3 separate regions of the Homo sapiens genome follow, and all the other regions are linked to region 1. Evidence: promoter capture Hi-C in 16 types of primary human blood cells and fetal thymus (Javierre and others, 2016). All regions are on one chromosome and are shown on one strand. Each heading gives the region's core, a stretch centred on a gene start or on the middle of the fragment in contact. The rest is flanking DNA. Distances are from core to core; before and after follow the strand shown. Region 1 holds the start of UBQLN2 (ubiquilin 2). Region 2 holds the start of MAGEH1 (MAGE family member H1). Region 3 has its middle 7.8 kb from the start of ZXDB.

Evidence for each region. The method cuts DNA at HindIII sites, captures the fragments that hold promoters and counts their contacts. A CHiCAGO score of 5 or more calls a contact.
Region 2: a contact is called between the fragment with the promoter of MAGEH1 here and the fragment with the promoter of UBQLN2 in region 1, in 1 of 17 cell types (fetal thymus). The highest score is 11.3, in fetal thymus.
Region 3: a contact is called between a fragment that was not itself captured here and the fragment with the promoter of UBQLN2 in region 1, in 1 of 17 cell types (non-activated CD4 T cells). The highest score is 7.0, in non-activated CD4 T cells.

What each region holds. Positions count from the first base shown.
Region 1 is chrX:56,561,111-56,564,876 of GRCh38, forward strand. It overlaps UBQLN2 (ubiquilin 2), which reads left to right and starts at 2,517. Exons shown (of 1, transcript NM_013444.4): 1 at 2,517-3,766. The coding sequence starts at 2,764. RefSeq lists enhancers at 2,220-2,847, 3,244-3,443, 3,454-3,513. The HindIII fragment of the contact is 11,191 bases long and covers 1-3,766 here.
Region 2 is chrX:55,450,150-55,453,915 of GRCh38, forward strand. It overlaps MAGEH1 (MAGE family member H1), which reads left to right and starts at 1,978. Exons shown (of 1, transcript NM_014061.5): 1 at 1,978-3,417. The coding sequence starts at 2,226. The coding sequence ends at 2,885. It overlaps MIR4536-2 (microRNA 4536-2), which reads left to right and starts at 1,346; the gene lies at 1,346-1,433. MIR4536-1 (microRNA 4536-1) reads right to left here and starts at 1,433; the gene lies at 1,346-1,433. RefSeq lists enhancers at 2,191-2,240, 2,391-2,440. The HindIII fragment of the contact is 1,343 bases long and covers 859-2,201 here.
Region 3 is chrX:57,597,900-57,601,665 of GRCh38, forward strand. No RefSeq gene overlaps it. Among named protein-coding and RNA genes, the nearest start is that of ZXDB, 7.8 kb to the left of the region's middle. The HindIII fragment of the contact is 2,118 bases long and covers 618-2,735 here.

The sequences.
Region 1 (3,766 bases), core at 1,267-3,766:
TTCCCTCCTTTTATTTTCCGTTGCCTTCTTTATTCGAATGCCTACTTCCCTTATTTTCAATCTGTTGTTTGATATTTTAAGTCTTTGAATGTATAAATTTGACTCTGAGTTCATCCACATAGTACTTAATAAATGAAATAATATTAAACTGGACCTTGATACAAATGCAGCTTCCAGTGCACCACTTATTTCAGTAGGTTTGGCGTGGGGCCTAGAAACATGCATTCTTAACAATGTTCTCAGATCACACGTAGAAAAATCCTAGCATTAGTATTGCTGTATATGCTCTCATTATCATTATTTTTGTAAATTTATTCTAATAAGAACATTGCACTTTGCCCCAAAAGTATTCAGTTATGTTTTAATAATCAAATGGTTGGTTTTTTGTTCATACTTTGATTATTAATATCTAGCTTTATTCTATGGAAATTAAAGATTACCTATAATATTTTCATATTCTCACCACCCATAATTAACTATTGCTGATATTTTATCATATTTGCTTTCATTTTAAAGATAAAAAGCATTTTTACATATTTAAGTTCCCTTTACTCACTATCCTGTATCCTATTCCATTTCCTCTTCCTCATGGGTGCAAGTTTGGTATATTTCTAAAAGAATATTTCAAATATACATAAGAATGTATTAGAGTGCTGTTTGGCATGTATTAGGTTGGTGCAAAAGTAATTGCGGTTTTTGCTATTACTTTCAATGGCAAAAACCATTGTATAATAGTAACAATTCGTTACTTTCAATGGCAAAAACCGCAATTACTTTTGCATCAACCTAATACTAATTAATTTGGCTTTTTAGATCTATACATATTAACATATTTAAAGCTAGTCATCTTTTTACCTCTGTATTTTATTAATTATATTAATAAAATAGAGAGGTAAAATAATATTAATTCTTCCATTTCTCCATCGATGGATATAACATACCTGTATATATATATTTTTCTTATCTTCAGATTTATTAAAGTATTTGTGACCTAATGACTTTGAAATGCTGTTAAATGTTGAAAGCAGTGGTGCTTTGGTGGATGCTTGGTAGAGGGTGGGGGTTGGGGAAGAATTTTCTGTGTGGTTTAACCTAGAGTTAGAAATATATAGATAAATTTGAAATTATTTCTTCTATTTTTCAAGTTCTCTTTCTCAGCATTGCTACATCTTTATTGCTCTTACTTAATCTGTAATTAAATTAGGTAAATATGTCAATGTTTGCCACTACTATTATGTGCCTGTCAATTTCTACCCATACTCTTCCCCAAAATACCTTTCTGTAGTGCATACTTACAAAAATCATCAGAAAATTCAAAATCTTATGAAAATAGAAAATAAGAATTATTCATAATTTCAGCAAACAGTACTAACAGCCATTAACTTATTTGTGCATAGCCTTCCAGATTTTTTTACACATACGGTTTACATATACAACAAACTGTTCAAAAATTGCTTTTAAAATAAAAATATATTTATTGTATTTTTGATATTGGAACATATATTCTTATATAGTTTGTAACTGTACAGAAATATACAAAGGCATAATTGAAAATACTCTGTGATTTCCCTATAACTACAGTTTATTTCATGTATACCTTTAAAGACACTCTATATTTTCTTGTATGGTAATATGATAATGTGCTCAACTAATCTCATGTAAACAGATAGTTAATATATTTAAATAACATTTTAAAATGCTACAATGTATATACATTTTATACATAAATATTTTTGCATCCTCATCCGATTATTAGGCGAAGTGTCTAGGTTAGGCATTTCTAAATAAAGGTGGAAACATTCAAAATGCTGATATATATTTTCAAATTGCCCTATGGTTGTAACAATTCACACTTCAGCTAGCCTGAGAGGGCATTTTTTAGGGTCCCTGTCAACAAGAAGGTTTACCATTATTTTTTTCCCTGCCAATATGATAAGCCAAAAGTAGAATTTTATTGTTTTAACTTGATTTCTTTTTATTAGTAGTGAAATTAATCATCCTTTTTTAATGTCTATTGGCCATTTGCACTCCTTTTGTAAAATGCACGCTCCTGCTCTGTCTTCTTCCCTTCCCCTACTGGAGGTGTTCCTCTTTTCTTTTTGCTTTGTCAGAGTTCTTTATTATTCATTTTTCGTCTTATACGTGGGATCTGTTCGATTCAGGCTTTCACCCTTTTACTGCCTTACAGATTGCTAATATACATTCTCCATTGGTCTTTTAATGTCGTTTACAGAAGCTGACTCTCTACCGCCTCCTTCTCTCCGTCTCACCCTCTCTGCCTCGCCTGCTCTGTACTGTTCTGTTCTCTTCTCTCTCTCCCTTTGTTTCTCTCTCTCCCTTTTTTCTTTTCAGTGCAGAAGTTTTTAATTTTGACCGAGCCAAATCTATCAATCTAGGCCTGGCGCCGCGTCAGCAGAGGGGGCGGGGAGGCGAGCGCGGAACTGGGGGAGGGGAAGGGGCGGGGATCAGCAGGCGGAGCGGCTGCCAGAGTTGCTGGGAGTGCGCGCGGTCGGATCACAAGGCGGCGGCGGAGGAGGCCCAGAGACCGGAGCGCGGAGACCTCAGCCAGCGGCCTACGCCCAGGCCTTTCTCCACCGGAGGACCAGGGAACCGCAGTCTTCATCACAGAGGTACCGTGCTCCGCGCTCCCCGCCTGACCCGGCCCAGCCCGCTGCGGCGGTGCCTCCTTCCTTCCTCCTTCCCTCGCGCTCTCTCTTTCGCCCGCCCGCGCCTTCCCTGCCCGCCTGCGTCACCGCGGCCGCCATGGCTGAGAATGGCGAGAGCAGCGGCCCCCCGCGCCCCTCCCGCGGCCCTGCTGCGGCCCAAGGCTCGGCTGCTGCCCCGGCTGAGCCTAAAATCATCAAAGTCACGGTGAAGACTCCCAAAGAGAAAGAGGAGTTCGCGGTGCCCGAGAACAGCTCGGTTCAGCAGTTTAAGGAAGCGATTTCGAAACGCTTCAAATCCCAAACCGATCAGCTAGTGCTGATTTTTGCCGGAAAAATCTTAAAAGATCAAGATACCTTGATCCAGCATGGCATCCATGATGGGCTGACTGTTCACCTTGTCATCAAAAGCCAGAACCGACCTCAGGGCCAGTCCACGCAGCCTAGCAATGCCGCGGGAACTAACACTACCTCGGCGTCGACTCCCAGGAGTAACTCCACACCTATTTCCACAAATAGCAACCCGTTTGGGTTGGGGAGCCTGGGAGGACTTGCAGGCCTTAGCAGCCTGGGCTTGAGCTCGACCAACTTCTCTGAGCTCCAGAGCCAGATGCAGCAGCAGCTTATGGCCAGCCCTGAGATGATGATCCAAATAATGGAAAATCCCTTTGTTCAGAGCATGCTTTCGAATCCCGATCTGATGAGGCAGCTCATTATGGCTAATCCACAGATGCAGCAATTGATTCAGAGAAACCCAGAAATCAGTCACCTGCTCAACAACCCAGACATAATGAGGCAGACACTCGAAATTGCCAGGAATCCAGCCATGATGCAAGAGATGATGAGAAATCAAGACCTGGCTCTTAGCAATCTAGAAAGCATCCCAGGTGGCTATAATGCTTTACGGCGCATGTACACTGACATTCAAGAGCCGATGCTGAATGCCGCACAAGAGCAGTTTGGGGGTAATCCATTTGCCTCCGTGGGGAGTAGTTCCTCCTCTGGGGAAGGTACGCAGCCTTCCCGCACAGAAAATCGCGATCCACTACCCAATCCATGGGCACCACCGCCAGCTACCCAGAGTTCTGCAACTACCAGCACGA
Region 2 (3,766 bases), core at 728-3,227, 1.1 Mb before region 1:
TTTAAATTTTATACAGCTAGCTATTGGTGTTTATAATATTAATCTCTCTTCTTTGCCCTACGTTTGAGATTAAGTCGCAGTAAAAAAAAATTCATGCTAAAAACAAGCAAATAAACTGCAAAAGTAATCCTCCCATTTTTGTTTCATGAGGGTAGGATTGTACATGCTATAGACTTCCATGCAAGACCCAAATTCCTGGAAACAGTAAAATAAGTTCATACCTGTACTGAAAAACAATTCAGAGCAATTATCAATGGACCAGAAACTGCGAGAATTCTCAGAATGTGGGACAGCAGATGGAGCCAGACTACTGTTTTGAGTAGGTCATGTCCCAGAACGCGTGCAAAGGTTATCCCAAACGGAGGGCTGGCTCAAGAGTGCTCTGTGTCCTGGAGAGGTGCTTTCTTTGCTTGACCAAATTGATTTATTGCTAACTTACCCAACAGGAGGTCTCGGTGGGCTCTAATTATAAAGAAAATTTCAGCAAGACAGGCATAAAGTATTCATTTGTTTCTTAAGAGTTCAGTTAAGAACACCTATAAAATCTTTTCCATCATGAATTCCTTCAGCACGCATTTATTAAATGCCACACTCACACACCGCTTGGAAAACCTTGAGAGGCAAAATCTGTGCTTACCATGTAATAAATGCTTTTCATTTTTTATCTCATTTAATTCTCACAACCCTATGAGGGCTGTACTTTAGCCCCACTTTATAGATGGGAAAACAGGCTTAGAGAGAAGTGACTTGCTTAAACTAATACCTTGAATGACATAAGAAAGATATAGAGTGCTAGTTATAGGGCTTTCCTCAATGGAGTAAAAATGGACTCATTACCCTTTTGGGCAGATCAAGACAAGCTTCAGGGAGAAACAGGTCTGTGAGCAGTCAAATGGAATTTAGATAGTTGGAGAAGGCTGAGAAGACAGGTCAGGCAGAGCAAACAGTGAGCAAAAGCAAGCAGTGGATAAAGTTCAGAGTATGCTCTGAAAGAAGCAAAATAAATCAGGAGTCCAGGAAGACTGGAGCCTAGAAACCTTGGAGCCAATCTGAACTCCATCATCCCCTCCACATTCCCCACTTCATCCATTCTGTCTGCAAAGCCCTTCAACGGTCACCTTTAAAATGTCTTTCTGCCTCTCCATCCCCATGGCAACAGCCTTAAGGCATACTTTAGTTCCCAGTGCTTCTTATTCCAATTGCTTCCTATGTGGTCTGCCAGGAAACAGTTTGCTTTTCTGAGAGGCTGCACAAATGCAATTCCTCTGATCCTGTCACTGCCCTGCTTTCATACATACATACATACATATATGTGTGGTAGATATATGCACTGTATATAAACATAATGTGGTAGATATATGCACGATATAGGTATGTATGTATGTATGTATAAAAGCAGGGCAGTATATATATCGTGCATATATCTACCACATTTTAAAGGCTCTGCACCTCTTTCACCCTGCTTGTTTCTGCAGTCCCATCTCCTCACATCATCCAGCACATCTGCCATAACAATATTATCCGGGTCCTACATGGGACCACAAATTGATTAGTATACACACAAATGCCTTCTGAAAACAGGGCGAGTGAATGAACGCGCTGTGTAAGCCAAGACAGGAAAGGAAGGCTGGAGACAGCTGACTCCTTCCAAGAATACACCCTCCCGCCACCCCTGGCCTCCCAACCCCCAACACACACACAGCCCGTCGTCAGTGGGAATGGAGCCGACGCACTCCTTCCCTAGACCGTCGAGCCAATCTTGGAATGTTTGTAGTAGGCTGAAAATACAGAAACTTTAAGCTATTTTTTTCTCTTCTGCAAACTCCAGGCCCCTCCAATCTCTAGCTGTCATTTCTGCCCTTGTCCCACCCCTGTCGCTGCCTGCCCCTTTTCCTATCTGCTAGCGGAAGTCCCTGTGGAGGACCAGCCTACTTCCTCTTTGGTGCTAGGAGTGTGCGTGGCAGGAGAGGCGGGGCCAATTTTGCTGAGCTTTCTCGCGGGCTTGCAGCTGCGGCAAGTGCTGGCGGCGGCTGCTCGCGCAAGTCAGCTGGCGTGGGAACTACCCTTTGTAGCTGAGAACGGCTTGTTTATTGCTACAAAGACTCTATTGACATTGGTAGCTTCAGCGGCAGCAGCTTCTTACGGTATAAAGCTGTTGCTTCCTGAAGAGGCTACAAGCATCCTTCCCTAGGACTGCTGTAAGCTTTGAGCCTCTAGCAGGAGACATGCCTCGGGGACGAAAGAGTCGGCGCCGCCGTAATGCGAGAGCCGCAGAAGAGAACCGCAACAATCGCAAAATCCAGGCCTCAGAGGCCTCCGAGACCCCTATGGCCGCCTCTGTGGTAGCGAGCACCCCCGAAGACGACCTGAGCGGCCCCGAGGAAGACCCGAGCACTCCAGAGGAGGCCTCTACCACCCCTGAAGAAGCCTCGAGCACTGCCCAAGCACAAAAGCCTTCAGTGCCCCGGAGCAATTTTCAGGGCACCAAGAAAAGTCTCCTGATGTCTATATTAGCGCTCATCTTCATCATGGGCAACAGCGCCAAGGAAGCTCTGGTCTGGAAAGTGCTGGGGAAGTTAGGAATGCAGCCTGGACGTCAGCACAGCATCTTTGGAGATCCGAAGAAGATCGTCACAGAAGAGTTTGTGCGCAGAGGGTACCTGATTTATAAACCGGTGCCCCGTAGCAGTCCGGTGGAGTATGAGTTCTTCTGGGGGCCCCGAGCACACGTGGAATCGAGCAAACTGAAAGTCATGCATTTTGTGGCAAGGGTTCGTAACCGATGCTCTAAAGACTGGCCTTGTAATTATGACTGGGATTCGGACGATGATGCAGAGGTTGAGGCTATCCTCAATTCAGGTGCTAGGGGTTATTCCGCCCCTTAAGTAGATCTGAGGCAGACCCTTGGGGGTGTAAAAGAGAGTCACAGGTACCCCAAGGAGTAGATGCCAGGGTCCTAAGTTGAAAATGATGTCGATTGGGGGCGGGGGACACTGTATTTGATATTTGTGATCAGTGATCATTGTTCAACTGCGAAATAGAGTGTTTGCTTTTGATAATGGAAAATTGTATTCGTTTTAAAATTCCGTTTGTTGAGAATAACAATATGTTTAAAAATATAATTGAACAAATTTTTTTCTTTGTTTCCTGTCATTGACATTTAGTATAACAGTTTTGCTAACGTTCTAAAATGAAGTCGTTCCATCATAATCTATGATCTTGTACAGCACTTATAGAAATAAGCTGTTCTTTTGAAGTTGAAATACCCAGTAAAATGTTGAAGAAGGATGGAGGATTTCTTCATATCTGACGTTTCTGAAACCCTTTGTGTCTGCTGTTGTGTGAAGATTGACATTTACCATGATTTTCCTTAGTTACTGCAGAACATAGAGAAAAATAAAAGCCTAACGAATAGTACATCTTGCGCATTTTCTGACCACCTGTTATGTGAGGCACCAGTCTAGATTCTAGGGATACTCCCTAGTACACATCCTCCAGGTCCAAAGAATGTTCTAGATTATGTGGGAAAGAAAAATAGGTAAACTGGCAGTGCAGTAAATGCTGGGATAGAGAACGAGCCTGAAGTGCCATGAAAATGTAAAAAACCTTATGTGACCTGTCTTGGGGAGTGGGCCGGGGAAGGGAGCACCATAGGATGTGTGAAAATTCAAGAGACACTTAAATAAGTTTGGGGGGGACTGAAATATACGATCAGAATATATGATGAAAATATTATGTATTAGATATTTGATTGGATACTCCACCC
Region 3 (3,766 bases), core at 427-2,926, 1.0 Mb after region 1:
TAAAAAGAATTATGTTTCTAGGGGCTCCATTGATCATGTTGGTCATAAGCTAAAAATACACTGACATTTGTATTTTTTACCAATTAGTATAATTAATACAACAAAATGCTTGAGTAGTAGTCGAGAAACATGGATAGACTATGAAGTTTGTCTCTGTGACCTACATTGTTCATGTTCATGTCCAGGAAACATATAAGAAAGCAATTTGTAAGCTGGAGATTATACTGTATATATTCCAAATTAACAAATATTTACTGAGCGTCATTGTGAAGATTACACCATAACATATTGAAGGGTCTGTGAGAGGAGTACTATATAACCCTGACCTTTAAAGAGATCGCCATTGATGGGAGGAGATAGAAAAATAATATATTAAACTATTGAAGAACAAAAACGGAAAAATGTTTACTTTGGCACCAAATGAAAATGATTAAGAGGTTAACAAAAAAAAAGCAGTAAGAATAATGAGACATTTATTCTGGGCACAGAGAAGAGCCACCAAATATGTTTTAATAGAGGAGTCAGACAATGAAAATTATGTTTTAGAAAAGTTAATGTCATGCAAGTGTACAATGTGGATTAGATGGGAAAGACCGGAATAGGAAAATCAGTGAGAAAGCTTTTGCAGCAATCAAGGTGTGATATGAAGGATGAAGCCAGGACTAGGATGGTGTCAGTGGAGAGGTATTGGAAATATTTTCAAATATTTCCAGTATTTGAAGACAGATTTCAAATATCAGATAATTTCAAATATCTCTTCAAATACTGAAGAGAAGAAGGAATATTACTTAGTACCTCATTGCGGTGGAGTGGGGGGGAAGAAAAGAGGGAGGGAGGGAGAGAGAGATCATCATGGAAACCAAGAATGGTAACTCAGGTTTCCTTGGGGACTATAATAATCATATTTTTACTAACAGAATGAGGGAAGTAAGAGTTCTTTCTGAGAATCAGTGTATAAAGATGGTGTATTTAGTTAAACAATAATTGTTAAAGCATTGTTATCCTGCATGAGGATACATTATAACGTGGATACATTGTGGTTTATCCACTTTCTAGAAGACAGCAAAAGGCTACTTTTTTTTTTTATTTTTTTTTTGGCAGGGGGTTCCTTTAGGCATTCTCAGAACTACCTACACAGTTATGATCCTCTTACCTCCTTTTGAATTACGAGAGACCTCCCCAGCTTGTCTTGAATGATCCAGATCTGCATTGGCCAATATGGTAGCTACTAGTCATATGTGCCTATTCAGCACTTGAAATGTGTCTAGTGCAACCGAGGAACTGAATTCTTAATTAAATTTAAGTTTTAAAACTGAAGCAGTATAAACATTTTTCTGTTAGACACAACTCTATTGTTTCAGCAGGACTAAATTTCACTTTAGCCATTGAAAATTTAGTATCTAAATTGAGATGTGCTATGAAAGTAAAATATAAACCTTAATACAAAAAGTTTTCAGAGGCTTAATACAAAAAAATTAAATATCTGATTAGTATTTTAATATTGATTACATGTTGAATAATGTTTTCAATAGATTCGGTCAAAGAAAATATTCAAATTAATTTTATCAGTTTCTTCTTACTTTTTTAATGTGGCTACTAAAAAAATCTGAAATAAAGGCAGGACACAGTGGTTCATGCCTGTAATCCCAACACATTAGGAGGCCAAGGCGGAAGGATCACTGTGACCAGGAATTTGAGGCTTCAGTGAGCTATGATCCCACCGCTGCACTCCAGCCTGGGTGACAGAGTGAGACCCTATCTCTTTAAAAAAGAAGAAAAGTAAAGAAAATTTAAAATTAAACATATGGCTCTTTTAAAAAATAAAATTACATATAAACTCTCATTATATTTCTATTGGACAATGCCAATCTGGACATTACATCACTTCCTGAGACTACTCTGTATGAAAATGAGCTATGCCTTCTGTGCTGTATACTAACTGATTATGTTTAGGGTATAATAGTCTGTGTATTATAAAGGACTGCATCATAATTTCAGGAATTCAGTATTTTGTCATGAATTTCAGCAGTTCACTATGAAAGTAGAAGTGAATTTTACCTGCATCTGTCTCAGTTGGAGCTGGGAAGAGTAAGGTGGTGAAAAGTCCAGTATTCCTGGATCTGTGTGAGATTGCCTCATTGAGGCATCTTACTCATAATCTCTTCTGTCACTAAAGAGAATCATGAGCCAAGTGATAGCGTGAGAACCCCTACAACAGTCTTTCCATTTTGTAGTTTCCCTGTCCACTAAAAGAGAGAACTCTAGAAGGAATGGAACAAAAATAAAGGGTAAAACATTAAAGGAGTGTAAATAACTCTCCAGGAATTACACTGTATTTGATGGTGAATTTGATAGGAGTCCCACATTGTCACCTAGGATAATTTCTCCCTCTTGTTAATTGCTGACATTTAAAGACATACAGAACTCTTTTAACTTTTTATTTTTCTAAAGACAATATCCTAATTCGGTATTTTAAAACAAAGCACACAGAGATACCTAACAGCACCAACAATTTCTGAATCCCTTAAGACCATCCATTCTATTTGTTTACTAAGCTATCAATCAGCACTTATGTATTGAATACCTAATATATGAGGTATTGTGAATTATTACACCTAAAGTATAACTCATTAATCCATACCAAATTTTTTTGAGTATCAATTATGTAACAGGTATTGTCTTTATGTTTAAAGATATGATCTATATGGGAAACTATTAAAACCAGTATATAACAAAGCTTTAAGAGGTACATTATAGGTTTATCAGAATAAGAAGTACCATTTTCTGTAAGTGAGCATAAATTTTGATGATGGGAAACCAATATGCACAATATCATGAAATATTGTATTTCATCAGAAACTAAAATTTTGTTTAAAGTATAAGTATTGCAACAAAAGTATTCTAAGCTAAAACTTTGACAGGTTTCTGAGAAGTAGATTTGATAAACTATAGCAAAATATGAAAATCAATTATGAAACAGACTTTGTTTTTTATTTATTTTTAGATTACAACTTTTGGCTTGATGAATCTTATACCTATAAGTGATCCTGGGGATTGTGTACTTATCTCCCTCATTTTATGAATGAGGAAAGGTATTAAGCCTACACTTTGTGTGTAAATTTCTTTTCTTCTTATTATAAGACATTATTGCAAAATTTAATTCTGTGGAAAAATAATGACATTATTTCAAAGATAAATGTATTATATTGACACACTAGGTGGAAGGAATGAACTAGTAATTAATTTCATGTAACATTTGGGACTGAAAGTTAGAGTTAAATATGGAGGAACCTAAAAGTTCACCAGTGCTCAGGGGTGGAGGTTCTGGTAAACAAGTAAGTGTTTTGATTTCTGGTAAAAAATAGTAGCTTAACATTTTTGACAATTAGGGAAAATTCTGTTTCAAAATAGCAAAATAAAGCTTTCTTTAATGCTAAGAATTTTTTAACCTTCAAGATGTAAAACACTCACAAAGGGTAAAAAACAAACATTTTCCTTATAGCATAATAGCAAAAGAAAGTGATTTATTTTAAACAAGACTAACCTCTCTCTTCTGTTTACAGTACAGCATAGAAGCTAACTTCAGAATTTTCTCCCTTCAAATGACAGAAGGAAACTGTCCACTTGTCTGCTTAGAAATTTTCCAGAACAGAGAACCCTAGTGAAGGAGCAGCAGCAGTTCATCCCTAGCTAGTTTCAACTTTAGTGCTGCCTTAGTGAGTCCTTTCCTGTCCAAAGTGCCAACATTAGCTAGTTAACACCAACT